Regions from separate parts of the Homo sapiens genome. Here region 2 is linked to region 1. The links are contacts of gene promoters, found by promoter capture Hi-C in blood cells and fetal thymus (Javierre and others, 2016). All regions are on one chromosome and are shown on one strand. The core of a region is centred on a gene start or on the middle of the fragment in contact, and the rest is flanking DNA. Distances in the headings are between cores, read along the strand shown.

Region 1 (5,338 bases), core at 65-2,564:
TCTTCAGACCCCGCTTTCGCCAAACTCCCGGCGCCCTGCGCTTCCAGCCCAGCAGAGAAAAGTGTGAAAAGCAAGCCCGCGGTCGCCGTCGGCCTTGGCAGAGAAATCAAGAGGAGAAGGGAAGGGAACCGCTCAACTACCCTTCGGGAAACCAAGTTTCCAAATATGCCGCCCTCTTCCTGGTTTGCACAAACGGTTTAGGGCATTCGTTCCGGTTTCAGGGTGGGGTATGCCGTCGCTCCCCTCCTCCCCGCCCTGTGCTTTTAAAAGTTAGGAAACAAAAAAGAGCACCCATTGGCTGGAACCCCAAGGGAGGCAGATGCAGGAAGCACAGAGCTGCACCGCTAGGCGCAGCAAACAGCCGCGGCCGAAGGCGCGGGTCGCCGAGTGGGCGGCGGCCGCCCGCGAGGCGAGCCTGGAAGCAGTATCTGAACCGTCTGGAGGGTGACCAGGTTGCGCGGCGAGCTTTGCGACTGACACGGCCAATGCGCTAGTGGCTGAGTGGCCTTGGCCATGTAGGGACGCGGCGCGCACGCACACCCACAGACTCGCAGAAGTTCAGGTTCGCGCCGGAGAGAAGTTATAGGCAGGAAGGGGCCCACTCACCCGCGGCTCCGCGCTCCAGGTCTGCGCCACTCCGAGCCGGCCCAGACGTCGCCCCAGCCGGCGGCGGGAGCGCAGCGCCTTCGTCTCCCTCAGAAGAACCCTTTTCGCCCGCGCCGCCGCCGCGGCTGCAGCCTCCGTCGTCCACGGCCCCCGCCGCCTCTTCGGCGCCCAGTTTTCGCCGCTTCTTCTGAAGCTGTTGCTGCTTCTCGGCGCCGATCAGCGCCTCCACCGAGAAAGCGTGCGCCTTGAGGCTTAGCATGCTGCACGGCGAGCCCCTTCGCTTCTCGGCCATCCCCCCCGCCCCGCGCCCGCCCGCCCCTCTCTCATATACACTCACGCGGGCACACGCGCGCTCTCGCTCTTCCCCCACCAAAAACTAAAAGGCTCTCGGGGCCTCCCGAGATCTGCCCCCTTCCCCACCGCGGGCAAAAAACAGATTTGGCGTTTCCGCTTTCTCGCTTGTGTTGGGATCCAGGAACCGGCGACGCGCCGGCCAAGTCTCCTTTCCTGGGTCTCTCTCGCGCGCTCTCTCACTGATGCACTCCTTTGCTCCCACCCCTTCCACCTCCTCCTGCTGCTCCGAGGTCTGCCTCAACTGATGCGCCAGAGAGGACTAACATGGGTAAAAAACACTCTGTGGACACAAATTAGGGATTGTAATTGAAATTTGTTGCCTTGATCTGTCAGCACTTCCAGGCAGGAGAGCGGTGGGAAGAACTTGCTCATTAGTGTCAATAAAGCGGCGGGGGCGGAGCCCGGGTCCCTGTCCATCACCCAGACGGCCGGCCAATCAGGAGGCGCCGACTCCGCGCAGCCCGCGCCCACTTCCTTACAAGGTAGCGAAAAACCAGGAGTGAAAAGCGCCGCTGTCTGGCTTGGATGTGCCAGCCACACGGACGCTGAACTCTGTCTCTCTGACGTCCGTAGCTGAGTCCAGCCCCGTAGTCTCCAGCTTTCCTCACCAGGACCTGGAAAGGCGGAAGTTCCCGGCTTTAAACTAGACGTTCAACAAGTTAGAAAATCAGGAATCTTTCAAGGTTCCGTAAATTGCCGTCCCACTTCCGTATCGCTTAATGTTGCTACAACTCAGAATATTGGGAAGCTGGGAAGAATTCGCAGGCCCCTCCTTTCTCATTTAAATGTTCCTGCACTCAGTCTGCGCCAGATATGGCTTAGGCTTATTTAAACTTTACTCCGTGATTTTTTTCTTAGGGGATACCAGGTTAAGAAATATGTAAATCCTTTAGGAGTGCAAAATGTTACGTTAACGCTCAGTCCGTCATATAAATGTCAGAAAAAGCACGCCCTTTCCGCAGCCCACCTTTTCTTTCAAAGAGTGGTAGTTATTTTAAAACGTAGGTCATGGGATTTTCATTCTGTACGTCTTTAACGATATGGACAACTTTAAAACCCCTTAAAACTTCGCAAAATGAAATAAGTATGAAGACGCAATAAAATTCCCCATTTGAAAAACTTCTCTGTGATTTAAGTAAGTTTATATTTGTCCTACTGTTGACAATTTACAATCGTTACTTCAGGCTTTTAAGGAGTCCATTGATGTATTTAAAACAAATTTAATAAAATCAGTGCTTTTTAATTAAATGACACCAAACATATATATTTGTACAATTTGTTTTGTAGTTTCAACTCGACTTTTTGTTAGGATTAACAAATATATATATATATGTTTGGTATAAATAGAGCAAATCTCTTGTGGAATAAAATTAATCGTGCATATTACTCCATCTTTTGTATAAAATACACGGCAGGCCGGGCGCGGTGGCTCACGCCTGTATTCCCAGCACTTTGAGAGGCCTACGCGGGCGGATCACGAGGTCAAGAGATCGAGACCATCCTGGCCAACATGGTGAAACCCCCGTCTCTACTAAATAAATAAATAAATACAAATAGTAGCTGGGCGTGGTGGTGCACGCCTGTAGTCCCAGCTACTCGGGAGGCTGAGGCAGGAGAATCGCTTGAACTCGGGAGGCGGAGGTTGCAGTGAGCCCAGATCGCGCTACTGTACTCCAGCCTGGCGACGCAGCAAGACTCCGTCTCTGTCTCTCTCTCTGTCTCCATATGTGTGTGTGTGTATATATATATATATATATATGACAAAGGAATTTTTTCCTCTCCCTCGTCCCTCGTTTAATTCAATCTCCGCAACCGTTGGCTGCCCTTTTATCTCTGACTTCTCTGTAAACTTTCAGTAGAGTAGCATTTGGGGGTAGATCCGCCACTGAGACTGATCCTTTTATTGTAGAAGAGAACGCGCGGTTCCTGGAGGCCGGACACCACAGCGGGAGTAGGAACCTGGCAGGCGATGAGCAGAGGCACGAGCAAGCCGCCCAGCCAAACCTGGCAGCCTTGAGGTCAAAAATGATTTTGTAATATCCTTGCGGAGGAAGCCTCTTTTAGACGCCTGAGAAACAAACTCAGTTGGGAGGAGGTGTTTTGCATTTTACAAAATGAAGGCTTTGCGACCGGTTTAGAGCTGTGTGGTCCCTAGTGGGTCTCCAAGCTCCGGGGTACCCTAGGCCGGTATTACATCATTAAAAAGAAGCGCAAATCCCATTTCTGAAGCTTAGCCGAAGGCAGGCGCCGGCAGGGAGAGCTAAGAGGCCGCCTAGAGAGTTTGGGCCGGGAGTGGGAGTGGGACAAGGCGGGAGCTAACTTAGCTGGAGTAGACGCCAGAAGAAGTTCCGTTCAGCTGAGGTGCCCCGCCCCAATCCCAGGCTCTCGGGGACCCCAAGAAGGGAGCTACCCGGTGCTTCTCCGAGCGGTCCTTACAGCTTTGGAGACTCTGCTGCTGCCCAGGGGTGTAGTCGTCGGAGCCCTCGGGCCTGCTGGGGCTCAGCAGGGGTAGTGGGAGCCCCTACCCTGGGAGAAACTGCCAGGGACAAACACTGTTTGCTGACGCAAAGCCTGTTCCGCAAAGGAGTTCTCCCTGTATATGTCCTGCAGCTCAAACTGATTTAGAAAGGGATACACAGGCCTGCAAGGCGCTCTCGGGATCATACAGCCTCACGCCCTCTTCTTTTCCTCTGCCATTTCTTTATGTCTTTCGCCTTCACCCTGGGCAGCAGACCCCAGCAGGCGGGGAAACCCGGGGACTGGTGTCCGCATTGCCGAAAGGCTGGAAAGCAGAGCCTCGTCTACATCCACGATGTTTCTAGAACGTGGCCCTTAGAAATAATTCAAGTGTGAGTAGGGCGCCGAGGACAGGACAAGGCGTTTGCCCCCTAGTCCTGCTACTGGCTAAGGAGAATCATAGCAGTAGAGCCGCACCACTGCTGCCGCCGCCTCCAACTTGCGTTAAGTTCGGCTCAGGCTACTGGATTGGGCAGGACCAGCTAACCCAGGTCCCGAGGGGCAGTGTGTCACAGACTGCAGCCCACTCCAACCTCGGCTCCTGGAGAAGGGGCGTCGAATCTCTCTTGGGCATGGGAGGGAAAGACATTCCGAGTTGGCTGGGCGGAGTGGCAGCCTTGAGAGTGACGAGTGACAGCAAAGCCTCGTCCTAGCAAGGCCTTTTACCAACAGCGCGGCATGCCCTTTCGAGGAGAGCGCCAGGCCCTCGCACTTTGCAAGTCAAGAGAGCAAAGAAAGCGGGGACAGGGCGCGTAATCGCAATGTCCGGTCGCGCGTGTGCACGTGTCTGTGTTTGCATGTGTGCGTGAGCATGTGCACCTGCTCAAGTGTAAATGTGTCTGTTGGCAGTTGGGGTCTAAGTACCTGAGAATGTGTGTCTTCTGTTGCTTTAGGAGATTAAAATGTCTTTTCCCAGTATTGAGCTACATTGAGGAAACAAAACTGAAATAAACTGTCAGGCCTCTCTCAAGACCAGCCGGATTCTATGTTAAATAAAAGTCAGCCAGAGGAGAATATTGTCAGAATGAATTAGTCTCAAGGACTTGGGGAGAGAGAGAAGGGCAAAAGATCCTTGAGCTCCCAGATCTGGGACAACGATATACAGTGGAATCCATGTCCTGCCGGACAGCAACACTAACTGGTGGGAGGGGGCGTGCAGGGGCGGGAGATGGACTTTTAAAAAGCATATCCGGTCTCTTCTTTATTTTTCTTGGTGCAGTTTAAAATTGGACAGTTCCGAAATAGTGCTTTTTTGTTGTTGTTGTTTTAAACTCATTCTCTGTCGGCTTCCACTCTGCTTTTTAGCCTGGAGCCTGTTTACATAGCATTGATACATGGCCAGTTGTGTATAGTTTGCTATTTCATCTTACCTGATTTATAAGATACTTACATTTTATTTATAAACAATTGTTTCTTTTTTAAGTTATAATTGTTAAAGCTCTATGCGTCCGGTCTTCATTCCTTCGAAAGATTGATTTTTTTTCTTTTACACTTGACACTCGCTGTATTTAACCCCTATATTTAATTTCTCAGACTCGATAAGGTAAGCCCTGAGTCTGTTCAGACAAGAATCTGTTCTTTGCCCCTGATCTCAGGGCACATCAAATGGTCCCCGAGTCTCCAAATAATCCGGACCCAGACTTCTTTGCCACACATAGAGAAGTTTATTATTAGTAAAAGATGAAGTGAGCTAGAAGCAGAAATGGGACGGAGAGTATGGGTGGGCAACGGCCAAATCCAAACACCAAGAGGGGTACTTATTTGGCTGCGTTCCTCTATAGTTTAATCTGGGAAGGAGCCATAGCCTAATTGGAGACCGTGAACATCAGCCTACGCTGAGTCACCAGGCAGCGCCGCACAA
Region 2 (5,350 bases), core at 2,562-5,061, 200 kb after region 1:
TCAAAGTTAATGATTTGGGGTGAGTCTAAATTAGTTACATTGATAACAAGGTCAGCAATAGAATGAGGAAAGAAGAAAGGGTAATAGAATAGATAAAAGAGGTTAGACTTTTCTTAACCTTAGTTTGAGGGGGATTTTCCCTTGGATAATGGTCCACAACTTGAGGAATGGTGTTGCTTTCTTGACTCGGGTGTGATGGCTCCATCTTTTCTTGCTGCCTGGACTGCGGTTTCAGTGGTGGGAAGTACTAGGCCGGCTCCTCAGGCTGGTGTTGATGTACTGGGAACTCTAGGGGCAGCGCCTGTACTGGAAAATTTTGAGTTCTGAGGGAAGAGAAAGTGGAAGATAAACCAAGTATGTAGGAATGTTGGCAGTGGATTGTTTTGAGAGGTAGTTTGGAATAGGAAGATAGAAGACATTTGATCTCTGGCAACCAAGTCTCTAGACTTATTTGGCTGAGGGTATAAATTCCTATACACTCATAAACTTTGAGTGTGCTATACATGGCTTGGGGTCTTTAATGGGTCCTCTAATGTAGGTGGGATAGGACTTCCTTCATAAGAGGTTTGAATAACATTTCTCTGAGTTCTCTTTAGCGCCTACAGGAGAAATGGCAGCCAGTCCGGCTTTTCTGATTTGCTAGGTTATTTTCTTGACTCTTGAAAGACAGGCTTTTTGGTACCTGGAGACACAGACAATAGCTATTTTCTTTTCTGGTAACTGAAGGTTATTTAAGACTTACGTGATTAACTCCTCATAAACAAGGCTTTGACTTTTACTATTAATTCAGTCTGAAATTTTCTAAATATATGAATTACCACAGAGGCGTATTTAGAATTAGTATAGATGGTTCTTTCTGGGTCCTGCAGGTACTTTAAAGTTTGACTAAGTGCAGACAGCTTATAAATTTGAATAGACTAATTATTAAACACTTTGATTTTATTTCTCTAGGAACTTTTTTTTATTAATTACTGAACACTTATTGTGTTCTTTTTCCCTTAATCACTTTTGAAGGGGGTTTTTCTTAAGTTTGGCCAGATGTTTGTATGGTACTCACTTAAATCTAAACATGTGTGCTTTCTTTTTAGATTTGGATCTCTTGTTAAGAAATGTGATAGGTTAAGTTCTTAGTAGTTAATGTTAAACCATCCTTTTTAACAGAATAGCTTCATACTTATACATTTGTAATTTTTTTCTGGTGGCACATTTTAATATAAGTGACTTTAAAGAATCAAAGTTCTTTTCTGGTGGATACTTCCACCTTTAACACTGGACTGACCACAATAAATGCTAGTAGATATACCAGCTGAAAGATAGTTCTACTTCTTGCTCAGGAAACTTAGCTGCAGAGATGCCTAGCTGCTTGGAGCCTCAGCTGAAGCCCCGTATTACTTGGCGCTGGCAAAAGTAAGGCAGATGACCTATAATGTAGTCTGCTCGGGGCACAGGCTGTGGCCCAGGCTGTGTGTCCTGTAGAGCCACCGTCAATATGGTGCTGGGACCCTGGACCAGCTGGTGGGGCAGGAGCATGGACTTTGGCTGCCGTGGAGGTGCACTATGGGCCGTACAACTCTGACAACATGTTGCGGCGGATCCTTGATGACAAAAGCCACCTGGCAACTTAGGAGCTTGGAGTCCTTTTGAGGAGGGGGACTTAGGCTGGGGAAGAACAGACTTATGGAGTGATACCTGAGGGGAAGGGGGGGGTGTATTAGGTGGGGGATGGTCTAGGGGATCCTGTGTGCTGTTCTTTTTGCTAGGATCCCCTAAGACCCTTCCTTCACTGTCTTTTTCATTCAAGATGATTCTGTCCTTAATGGGGCGCATGTACAACTAATTTTCCTCCAAAGATTAGTTTTTGACTTGCTCCTTTCAATCCTTGGAGGAGGGGAAAGGACAAGGCCTTGCCACCAACATAGGGCATAATCTATTTCCTCTTGGGAGGCAGGTCTTCTACTAGCAACATTTTCTATTAGAAGTTCACAAATCCATTCCTCATTCAACCCAAATTCTGGCCAGAAAACTAAGGGTTCAAGGATTGATCCTTGAGTCCAATTGGAACAGCAGTATTTTATCATTTGTTGCTCTTCTTATGTTTAATATTTTAATTATCTTTCTAATGTTTTAACACGAGACCTAGGGGACTATCAGGAGGTATCTTTGTTGCTAACTTTATCTTTTTTGCTTGTAATATTTCCCATCCAGGGCCCTGCCTAGGCTCAGTTCCTCGTATTAGGAATCTCTTGCCTAGTGGGAGCTTGCTGTGGCTCAACCCCTCATGTTAGGGATCTCTGGCCTATTTGGGGGGTTCCTTGTTGCTTAACCCTTCATATTTGGTGGTCTCTTGCCTATCCTCCACTGGAAGCTTTGCTAAGGCTCAATTCGTCTATCCTTTAGCTCCACCTGCTGGAGTCTTCTTGCATCCTTCTTTTGCTTTGTCTGCTCTGACTGCTTTCCTCGCGGGAATATTGCAGGTCCCTCTTAGCATTGATGGCAGGTCAGAATAAACCCCTGAAGGGACCCCCTGAAGGGCCACCCTAAGCCTTATGAAGTGACCTCGGAACCGCAGATTAGACTCACTCACTCCGTACAGCAGTAGTGCTTGTTATCATTCATGCACTCAGCCTCCGGAATGCCCCAACCCCCACCCCTAACCACCAAGGAAGTGCTTTGTTGCCCCTGTGACGTTTCCTACATTCTGTCTGAGCACAGAGTTTACCTGGTTGCTGTGGTATTGCAACCCTCTCCTCCCCGCATCGCTGAGAGTCCGGGTTCATTTGTCTCAACGGGGGGGTCTCAATCTCTTGTACCTGAGGCCACTGCAACGGGGCAGTGGGACGCCATCTCCTCTGGGTAGGGTGATGGAAGACCCCTTTCAGAAAGAGAATGGGGATCTCGGACGAGCCCCCAGAATTGTTGGATATAAAATGCTTTAGGAATAAATGCTTGATGCCGTGAAGTGAAACCAGCACTCAGCAAGGCAATTTACTTCTGCAGAAGGGTGCTACCTGCATCAATCAAGATCTCACGAGCACACTGAACAAAGACGACCAGGGGCTTTTTTTATTCTTAACATAGTCCCTACCTCTGTGTCACTCCCCCATCAGCTGGGTCGGACCACACAATCTGAGCTGACCCGATTGGCAACTTGTACATATTTTTCTAAATATAGAAGGGGACGGGGATGTGAGGTACAGAGGTGGACCGTGTGAGATGTGCAGTTTCAGGGGAACAATGACTACAGGTAACCAAGGGAACAGATGTGAGTTATTGATTAGAGCTGACAGGAAAGGGGTAGGCTGTTTGACAGTAACTAGGGGCAAGGAGGAACAGGAAAGTTGAGTTTGAGAACAAAAGACAAGGAAGTTAGCAGGCTAAATCCCTGAAGAGAAACTCAGAGAAATTCACTGTGTCTTACATATGTAAACCCATCTTCAGCAGCTTCATGCGTTATGTAGTTTTTAGCAGATATGCCCTCTTAGAATAACTACTCGCTTTGGAAGTAGACACTTGTGCTTTCTCAGCAGATTTTGTCATCTACCTTTCATGGGGTCATGAATATTACTATGGCCCCATCACGGATGGTATATATTGGCAAAAAATATATATTTTGCAAGTTACACTCTTACCACTTTACTTTTTCAACATAAGTTCAAGTCTTACTTTTTAAGTAAACGTGCACTTTCACCTTTTGAGCTCATTGCTGCTATAGGGTTTATTGTAAAATTTTAAAAGTATAACCTAACATTAGAAAAGTAAATAGCTATAGCTCCTACTGTAAAACAGTCATCCACTATAATAAGAGCCCTCTGACTATCTCTATAGGCAGGACTGCTTGGCCTCTGTTTCCTATCTCACATGTTTCTTTTTGACCTTATCAGGTGGTAGCCTCAAGCCCTTGGCTATTTCACAGGACATGAACAAGTGACTGACAGGAGCAACAGCAACGAATATGTCTCACTACCACTGAAGCCAGTTAGCTGGTCCTGGTCACTTGTGTCTTTACACAGTTTATTAGAAGCCCACTCCATGCTGTCTAGAAAGGGAATATTACATATATTCTAGAATCAGCTGGGAAAGGAGGATTGGGTTATCTATTACTGCTCAACTTTCAGATGTAACTACCCGTTTATGTGTGAACTTACACCTATATTTATGCACTACAGATGTCACAACAGAAGATAGAAGTACAAAATGGGGGGTCTTCCTATTCCTGCTCATTTTCATGCAACTATGAATGATGATAGTACATTGTTTAAAAAGTTACTGGCCTGGCATGGTGGCTCACGCCTGTAATCCCAGCACTTTGGGAGGCCCAGGTGGGTAGATCATGAGGTCAGGAGTTTGAGACCAGCCTGGCCAACATAGTGAAACCCCATCTCTACTAAAAGTACAAATAATTAGCCAGGTATTGTGGCGCATGCCTGTAATCCCAGTTACTTGGGAGGCTGAGGTGGGAGAATTGCTTGAACCTGGGAGGCAGAGGTTGCAGTGAGCCAAGATGATGCCACTGCACTCCAGCCCAGGCGACAGTGTGAGACTCTGTCTCAAAAAAAAAAAAAAAAGTTCCCAACAGAGGTAATGCTAAACCAATAGATCAATAGATGTAACAGGAGCTGTCCTGGGCAAGCTGGGATGTGTGGTTTCCATACTTGCAAGTCACTTTGCCAACTCTATCCACTCTGCTTGAACTCTAAATATTGGAGTGCTCTGCTGGGTACTGGGACCCCTTGACTTCTCCCTGGTTGCTCTCACTTTGACTGATACTGAAACTCTCAAATCTGTATCTCTACTCCCTAAAAATTAAGACTTAAATACCCTACAACCTACTTATATCTCTGCTTAGATATCTAGTGAAATCATCTTACACAGCTCTATGTGTCTCTGAGTAATGAAACACTCAAAACTTAGTGGTGTAAAACCATAACGATTTCATTATGTCCAAGGATTCAGTGGGTAAGAAATTTGGACAGGTCAGAGCAAGATTTGTTTATTTCTGTTCTGTGATGTCTGGGGCCTCGGCTGGAAAAACTCAAACAGCCAGGGTGACTTGAATGGCTGGGGACTAGACTTATCTGGAGGTTTCACTCTCATGTTTGGCGTCTGGGCTGGGATGTCTAAAAAGCTGGGCTCAGCTAAAACTGTCAACCAGACCACCTATATGGGGCTTCTTCATGCGGCTTGGGCTTCTTTTTGTGGCAACTGGGCTCTAAGAGAGGCCCAAGAGGGACCATCCTGAGAGCAAGTGTTTCTCTGCAAAGCTTCCTCTGACCTATCCTTGAAAGTTAGGCAGCATCACTGCCACAGCCTTCTACTGGATATAAGCAAGTCTCTAAGGCCAATGCAGATT

What was found. Contacts are between HindIII fragments. The CHiCAGO score rates a contact against its expected background, and 5 or more counts as called.
Region 2: a fragment that was not itself captured here is called in contact with the fragment with the promoter of TBX18 in region 1 in 1 of 17 cell types (endothelial precursors); the score reaches 6.5 in endothelial precursors.

Annotation. Positions count from the first base shown.
Region 1 is chr6:84,763,284-84,768,621 of GRCh38, forward strand. It overlaps TBX18 (T-box transcription factor 18), which reads right to left and starts at 1,315. Exons shown (of 8, transcript NM_001080508.3): 1 at 607-1,315. The coding sequence starts at 898. All of the region lies in intron 1 of LOC124901353 (a long non-coding RNA gene), which reads left to right. RefSeq lists enhancers at 48-632, 633-1,216, 1,228-1,522. The HindIII fragment of the contact is 3,607 bases long and covers 1-3,187 here.
Region 2 is chr6:84,965,181-84,970,530 of GRCh38, forward strand. LOC105377881 (a long non-coding RNA gene) reads right to left here and starts at 2,624. Exons shown (of 3, transcript XR_942746.2): 1 at 2,585-2,624; 2 at 119-323. The HindIII fragment of the contact is 2,896 bases long and covers 2,364-5,259 here.